2 separate regions of the Homo sapiens genome follow, and region 1 is linked to region 2. Evidence: promoter capture Hi-C in 16 types of primary human blood cells and fetal thymus (Javierre and others, 2016). All regions are on one chromosome and are shown on one strand. Each heading gives the region's core, a stretch centred on a gene start or on the middle of the fragment in contact. The rest is flanking DNA. Distances are from core to core; before and after follow the strand shown.

The links. The method cuts DNA at HindIII sites, captures the fragments that hold promoters and counts their contacts. A CHiCAGO score of 5 or more calls a contact.
Region 1: a contact is called between a fragment that was not itself captured here and the fragment with the promoter of S100B in region 2, in 1 of 17 cell types (naive CD8 T cells). The highest score is 5.0, in naive CD8 T cells.

The regions. Positions count from the first base shown.
Region 1 is chr21:46,529,979-46,534,007 of GRCh38, reverse strand. DIP2A (disco interacting protein 2 homolog A) reads right to left here. Exons shown (of 38, transcript NM_015151.4): 10 at 1,771-1,881; 11 at 361-484; 12 at 1-4. Among named protein-coding and RNA genes, the nearest start is that of DIP2A-IT1, 70 kb to the right of the region's middle. The HindIII fragment of the contact is 8,719 bases long and covers 1-4,029 here.
Region 2 is chr21:46,602,468-46,606,813 of GRCh38, reverse strand. S100B (S100 calcium binding protein B) reads left to right here and starts at 1,732. Exons shown (of 3, transcript NM_006272.3): 1 at 1,732-1,801. RefSeq lists an enhancer at 193-694. The HindIII fragment of the contact is 9,714 bases long and covers 1-4,346 here.

The DNA.
Region 1 (4,029 bases), core at 1,472-3,971, 74 kb after region 2:
CAACCTGTGACACACAGACAGGACACAGAACAGCAAGCAGTCAGAGGCATCTGCTCCCCACACTCGAAGCCTGCGCCTCCAACATGCAGCACTAGCTACTGAGCGAATAAGGAGTGCAAGTTTTAGTCTCATTTCATTTTATATAATTTAAAAAGGTACATCCGGCCAGTGGCTACCACATTAGACAGTACAGGTCGAGACATGAAGCCAGATGAAAACCGAGATTCACCAAGGACTCGAACAAGGGATCACTTTTGCTGAAGACCCAGACACCTCTGTCATGTTTAATTTCTGGAACACCATGCATTTAACACAGACCACAGTCAGAACACTGACTCCCCTTCCCTTGGGAGGCCTCACCTTTGAAAGCTGCCACCTCTCCTGTCTGTGCCTTGGGGAGGCCTTTCTGACAAGCGTCTGTGGTCAGGGCCAAGAAGACTCCACAGCTGCCCAGCAGAAACCCAACCTGCTGGCTGCCTGCATCCTGCAGAAAGCAGAGTGACCGTGTGGGGTGGGGTGCTCACAGCAGCCACAGCCCCAGACCCTTGGTGCTCCAGGCCATGCACAGAGAACAGATCTTTTTTTCATCCCTCATAAAACTTCCAGAATAATTCAGTCCCATTATTGATATATATGATCTTTTCACGGAAATAGTTCATGAAAATGTGACAACTATGTTTAAATTTAAAAGATAATTTTGGTTTGTATTTGTGTTGAAATATAAAGTTTAATGGGCTAATTTCTCAAAGTTTATTCTTACAAATGACATTTAGAAGCATTTTTAATAAACTCCAAAGTTAATGGCATTGAAATTTCTATTGAATCATGTTTGAAATTTACAAATTAATCTAGAGAGGCCTGGTCACCAACGATATTAAATTATTTCCACACAGAAACACATTTCCTTGTAGCCAAGTCTTCTGTGTCCCTCAGCAGTATTCTGTCATTTTCTTCATATAAATTTGACAAATCTCTAGTTTTACTCCTAAGAACCACTGCATTCAAATACCTGCCCATCACATATTATGCTTTGAGATACACTAGTTTGATTTGCAAATTTTACTTTTGGGATTCTTGAATATTTCTGGATAATGCTCCTGTTAACAACTGCCTGAATTCTGGGACAGGATGACAGAAAACTGATTTTCTCAAATTCATGCCTTGTCTATTTTTTTTCAGTAATCATATTATTGATAGTTATATCAAAAATGTTACAGATACCTAGATCAGCAAGACCCCACATTAATAATTTATCAGCAACAGAAACTGCCTACGGTCATATAAGTGAACAGAAATGCAAGATAATTTCCATCTCGTTTATTCAAAACTGCCACTGAGAAGTGAGCTATATCACTGTAATGATATATTTATCCCTAAGAAATAATAATTATTTTCTATAAACATATGGTTTTGAGGAAAAGTTGAACAAAATCTTATTGAATCATAATTCTATTCATTAGAGGAAAAAATGGCTATCATTTCTGTTGGGAAATTCATGTAGATGATAGAACAGCTCCACCTAATAAGAGTGTGGTGTGGGAGCATCACCAGCAAAACGGTTCTCAGTGCCCCTCTCATTAACAAGAAGAGAGGCAGGCAAAACGGCATCTGATTTCTCTTGAGTCCTGGCCAGCCTGTTGACTACTAGCTTTCTCTCCTCTGTCAAAACAGCTGCTTGCTGCCTGCCCACATGAGTGAAAAGGAAGTAAGATACTGCTGGTATCAAGTTCAGAAGCGAACCACACGGGACCTGAGCCATGGGTTTGCTACCTTTCTTGTTAATGGCACTTCTATGGGGACAGGAACCAGCTCTGCCAGGAGACACCCATAAAATGCAACCATGAACATCACAGGGTCACTATTCGGAAACACGAGCGCCACCTACAACAGGACAAAGAAATGAATATTCCAAATTTCCAATTTTTACAATATCTAGTTAAATTAAAAGCTAGTTATAAATAAAATTTTTGTAAGCCCCAAATATTGTAATAATTGTGCTTGAAACCATAAGGGACAAGTCCAAATAGTATTTAACTGAGTAGAGACAGTTGACTCAGGGCCTTTGAGAACACGCAACAATGAATAACCAATAAGTGCTGACTTTGTAAGACAAAATTTAAGCTGTATCTATATTCTGTACTTGAGGTCTGGAAATTTAGTTTCTAACAAGTTTGTTTGTTGAAAAGGGCAAGGTTCTCCTTCAAAATTTGGTTTTAACAGTGGTTGCCCAGAATGTAACCTATAACCTTCAGACTAGATGTTTGGTATGGAAAGTATATTTTTACAGAATTTGTTAGGAAGAGCTGTGCTCACTTTTATAAAGTGTAATATTATAGGAGGCAGAATTTGCCACCAATTTCTTCAACTCAATCACTGTGACCTTGTCCATTTTATTATGATTCACCTAACCAAAGAGATTCTCTTGCAAGTCAAGAATCTGAAAGTCTTTATCCTTGTAAGAATGTTTTTCAAGAAAATTAGTGATTCTTGAATTCATTCTAAAGCGTTGCATAAAATCTCATCTATGAGCACAACATATCATAAAGTATTATTCTTAAACTGTTTACATTTTTATAGCCAAGTACACATTTCCTTTCTTTTCTGATAACAGCTACCTCCATTTCTACTTGCGTTGCTTTCTGTGTATTCTCTAGCTAATTTGTTTTAAAATACTCCCTCAGCTGGGTCAAATACCCACCTACTGGTGGGTCATTTTCCAAATAACCACCCACTCAGGAGAGCCGTGAGTGTCCCCTGCTGCTGAGGACTCCACTGCTGAGGGTCTCGGTTCTCCTGATGGTGGGTGCTGAGGATTCCACCCCACCCTGGAGTCTTGGTTCTCCTGATGGTGGCTCTGCTGCCCCCCCTGGACTGCTGCCAGTGATCGTCCTGGGGCCTCCACTGTGGTCCTCCTGCTTGCACCCTACTCACTCACTCACTCATGTGGCTGAGGGACATCTTCTAAGAACTTGACAAGAAAGTGCTTGCGAGCCAAACGTTTCTGAGTCCTGCATGTCTGAAAATGGCTATACTATTCTCAAATCTGTTGAATCTCTGGGAACAGAATTTTAAGTTAAAATTATATTCCCTCTGAATGTCTGAAGCATCATTCCACTCTCTTTCAGTTTTACCAATGAGAAATCCCAAAAGCCACTGTCATTGCCAATCCTTTGTGTACATCCTACTTTTCCCCTGAAAGCTCTGGGATTCTTTTCTGTACCCCTCGTATTATGCAATATTATGGGCATGCGTTTTGGTGTGCATCCTTGAATGTTTACACTCTCCAGGTCCGGGATATTGTCCTGAATTACTATTTTCATTTAAAATGTTCTACTTTCTGTTCTCCTTTCTCTTTCTCGACTCCAGTTATCAGTCAGGTGTTGTGTCTTCTTGATCGAGTCTTTTTGTCCTATTTTACTCCGCTCTCCATCTCTTAGTCTTTCCTACCGGCATCCTTTTCTTGACTTATGAAACATCTTCATCTCTGATTTCCAAGAATATTAATACTCACTTTTTAGAAACATTGTTTTCTGTATCTAGCTTTCCTTGTTGTTTCCTCTTTCCTCCCTTCCTTACTTTTCTTGTCTCTTTCTCACTCCCTCTCTTCCCTTCCCTTTTCTTTGTCTTTTGGTATTTTCTCTCATATTGACATTTCCTTCTTAAAAGTCCTTGGCTAATAGTTCATATTAAAGACTTAGGCACTGAAAGAGCTACTTGGAACTGTCTGCCAGCTTGTTAACCTGCAGTTTCCTTGTTGGGTGATCTGACACAGGTGACCTTCTCACTAGGGGATTTCACTGGTATGTTGATTTTCACCATGTTCTCCTATTTTCCACCCTGGACTTTCTAGTATACCAGGGTCCTCCGGTCTGGTCCAGCTTGCCTACAGTAGTACTGTCCAACAGAAGTTTCTATGATGACAGAAATGTTCTACCTCTGATCTATAAATACAGTAGCTACTAGCCACACTCCTACTGAGCCCTTGAAATGTGGCTTGTGCAACCAAGAAACTAAATTTTTTATTTTATT
Region 2 (4,346 bases), core at 483-2,982:
CAGACCCAGCAATTGTAGGAATCTGTGGGAAGCTGGTGAGGTTGTATCCACGAGCTCCTGGGGAGCCTGGGCAAAGAATACCATCCTGGGGCCCCAGAGCGCTTGAAAGCCCTTTTCCTCCCTGTGGCAGATCCTCTCTCTCAGCCTGCTTCCAAGACCTGGGAACAGGGTGGACCCACGGCCCCACACTTGCCATCCCAGGAAGCTGCAGTGTGCAGAGGGCAGGCCCGGCTGGGCCCTCCTGCTGAACGCAGTGCCCTAAGCACAGGTGTACGGTCATTGCATGAGTGGATTTCAAACTATTTTTAACCCCTGCAGGAGCAGGCTAGAGCGTTTTCTATGGACACTGAAGGGTTAATCCAGAGCTCAGGCTGCCACTCTGGGGAAGTGGTCAGCACTTACAGGAATGGTCCCTCCAACATCTGAGCGAGGAAGGGGCACAGAGCACAGTTGTGCCTTCCTTGGGCCTGGGCAAGCTCTGTGCTTCACAGAGCAAGCCTGTGTCAGATCCTTCAGCAGAGACCACAGCCAGGGGTGGTGAAGCCGATGAGGAAGTGAGGGCCAACCACACTGCTCAGGCTGTTCCTCACAGGAGGCTGGGGCAGGCTGAGCCACGCAAGACCACAGCTCTCAGCCCTGTGCTATTTCCAGGGCACACTTACAGATCCTGAATGGTAGAGAACGTCCTGGATAAAACAATGACAGCAAGACAGCCATGTACACAGATATCTTGTGGGAAACCCTTTCACGGCCACTTTGAAACTGGGTTGGGAGAAGGACGTGATGCTGGGTCAGGCATCCATTGGGGACCATGGACATTTTTGGAGAGTTTGGGCCAATGTTCTTGTGTAATTTGTCAGAAGGAACACCTACTTCTTCATTCTTGTGAAGAAGAACCCATAAACTGGCCCCCGTGTTCAGAGGCTCCAGTCGAGCGAGTTGAGGGGACAGCTGGACTTCTCCTTCCTCAGGCTGGCTGGAGGCTTCAGCAAGGGGGCACACCGTCCACACGCCTCTGTAAAACAGCGTTCGAACGGGACATCTCTAAGGCATCGTCCAACTCTGAGAGTCTGTGACCTTCCACCCTGGGGTGGAGGGAAAGGCCTTGGGATACAGTCCACACATCACGTTTTCCCCTAAAAGTACCACCCGTTTTAGTCCCTGCAGACACTGGCCTCAGCAGCTTCTCTGAGGCAGCCCCGTTGAGCCCAGGGCTGACCACAGACAAGCACTACTGTCCACAGAACTTCACGCCCAGTGGGGCCAGACTTGGAGGATGGCAGAGGAGAGAAGCTCCAGGGGCCTCTCCATTAGAAACCAACTTGCAGGCCACTTAATCTCCTATGCTCAGCCTGTACTTGGAAGCTGCTTGTTCTTGGCTGCACATTTGCTTTGTTTGAATCAATTAATCCAAGTCTCTCTCCTCTCCCCACCCCCAACCTTGCCTTTAGGGTGACATCAATATTCATGTAATAAAGAAATCGCACAAAAAGCTGACTCCCCACTTCCTGCCCTACAGGCCCTTTTTTCTTCCTCAGCCCATGTGCAATCCTGGCTCCCAGCAAGTCCCCGGGGCTGCTTGGTCAATGCAGCCCTGTGTGCAGGCCTGGCAGCCCTGCCACCCCCGCCTTCGGCTCCCATTGGCTGCCACGGCCTGCAGTGGGCTGCACCAGGGTTCATCCATCCTCCCTGGGCAGAGGGAATAAGAGGCTGCCTCTGCCCACCAGTCCTGCCGCCCAGGACCCGCAGCAGAGACGACGCCTGCAGCAAGGAGACCAGGAAGGGGTGAGACAAGGAAGAGGTGAGAAAGAGCCAGGCCAAGAGGACGCTCAGGAAGAAATGGTTCTTTTCTTTTGGGTGGAACGGAATGGAGGGGTAGAAACTAAGTGGTAGCTTAAAAAGCCCCTTTAGGACAATTGGCAGCATTTCAGAAGTGTCAATAGGATGATGTGTTTTAATCTCCACATTACTGCTGCTTTGTGGACACCTGACTGCATCAGCCCTAGACAGCTAGAGGTGTGTTTTGCCATAAATCAGAGAAACGTCAGGTTTCATGGCCCAGAAGTGATTGTTGACATTTTCCCAGCGGTACTACAAATACTGCCTCTTCTGTAACTATTTGAAGAGTAAAGATTTTGCTTCCCACTGGGGCTAAAAATGATGGAGAACCTAATGCTAGTTTAGTCCTATATCATAAATAAATGCTTCCCTTTTCTCCTTATATTTCTTCCACCGCCCTGGGTAAGTAACTCTTCAGTTTTCCAGTTTCCCTCAGTTTGAAGTGCCAGGGTCCCCACAGCCCCAGGACGCCACTCAGAAATTACGTAACAATTACAAATAAATTGGGTCAAAGAAATCGGGGTTTTGGTGGGTTTTAACTTTCCTCAGTCTCACAGTTTCTCAGGGAGGTCGAACCCCTTCTTTAGAGGGATCCTCACACGCTAGGTAACTTGTCTTTCTAAGGAGTTAAAGTTCAAAAGTTCTCTTGTTCTCAATATTAAAAGATTAATGTAGGACATTCAAAGAATGTGAGAAAGAAACGGACATTTATTTCCATTTCTCTTAAAAGATAAACTATAAACCATCAACTATTTCTTAGGTCAAAGGGAAAAATTTAACAAGAATTTAATTGATTTGTAGTGTGGTTATGAAGAAAACCATATTTTCTAGTGGTTTCTATTAGTGTTCTAATATATGGGATACATGTTTTATGCCTTTCCTTTGTAATAATCCCATTAGTCACAATTCATAGAAAAACAATTTAACCTCCTTTTCCCCAAATCATCATGGACTTTGAGGAGCATCAGAATGATGTAAAAGTGTCTTGTTTTGTTTAAAAAAATACACACACATACAAACATGCATATATCAATAATTGAAAACTTGAGTGCAAAGAATAAGAAAGCATGAAATGTTAAAGATTTTAATCCATCTTAATTGTTCTATTTGTGAATTATCAAATTTTTAGGGACTCAAGAGCAAAATAAAGTACACTGATTATTAATAGAATGACTTTAGCAAAGATCTGGCCAGTATAAAAAAATCTTCAATCCTGTTTCCTTCGGAGGATCAGAAATAAATAAAATAATTCCAAATTATTTTTAAGATGTAAGTTATATATTCAACATGGGAATGATTTTTCAACACTATTTGATTTATTAATTTGTTTTTAATTATGACAGCGCAAACGTTCTTATTTAATGATTAGAACTCAAGGCCAAAAGCTGGTAAATTTCTCTGACTGCGCATCTGTTTTGTGAAACAACTGACAAGGCAACCTTTGTAAAATGCGCCTCATTCCCAGACTGACCAGATATTTCCTTGGTTCGTAGGCTGTGGCGTAAGGTACTTGCTGTGAGGGAGGTAGGGGGGCTCTTACTTTGACAGCTGCAGAGAAACACCTATTCCTGCCCCCACCCCCTCCCGCCGTCCCAGTCACTGCAGTGAATGAGCCACCCTTTCGGTACACTGGAGGTGGAATGCAGGCTCAGCAGCTCAGCTTTCTGCTGGATTCTGTCCCTCCCTGCGACAGAACCACACCCATTTGATCAGTTAAACTTAGGATACATTTTTTTTTCCTGGTAGATCAAATAACTTTCACTGTTATTCTTCAAAAAGATTGCGGCAATTCTACCATATTTATTTTTCCTGATGAATTTTACAGCTGTTTTTGTCATGTCACCCATCCAAAAAAATTCCATTGTTTTTATTAAAAATGATTTAAATTTACATATGAATTTAAAGGAAAAACTTCCTACATTTTATGTTCCTCAGAATCTCTTGGAAGGACCTACGTTTTTCTTCCTAAACTTAGTCTTAGATCACATGTTATTGCTATATGCATAGGATATTTTGCACTGTATTTTCTACTTCTTTACTGATAGAATATAGGAATGCTATTGATTTTTTGTCTTCTTATTTTGCTCCTAGTCACTGTCTCACTTTCAGATTGATTTTAACAGCTTGCAGTTGATGGTTTGCTCACCTGCACTCTACCACCTCATCTTGGAGCCTTGCAGGAACAGAGAGGGACCCTGTGGGGATTAATTCAGGGGAAATTAATCCCTGAATTCCCTTGCTGCTCTGCCTCTGTATTTTTGCCAGTTTCCCTGTTGGCCCAACCCAGCCAGAATTCAGAGGGCATGGGAATATATCCCCGTGGCCCACACGGACAGAGAAGGCAGGCCCACAGCTGTCTAAGAGGCCGGTGGAAGGATTATGATAAAAGTGCAAATTCCCAGAATGCCCCTCCAGGCCATGCCTGCTGCTCTGAGCTTGAAAAGAGTGCCAAGGCCATTCCATCCCCCTTGTCTGGGTTGAGGTCTGTATTGATAACATATGAAATG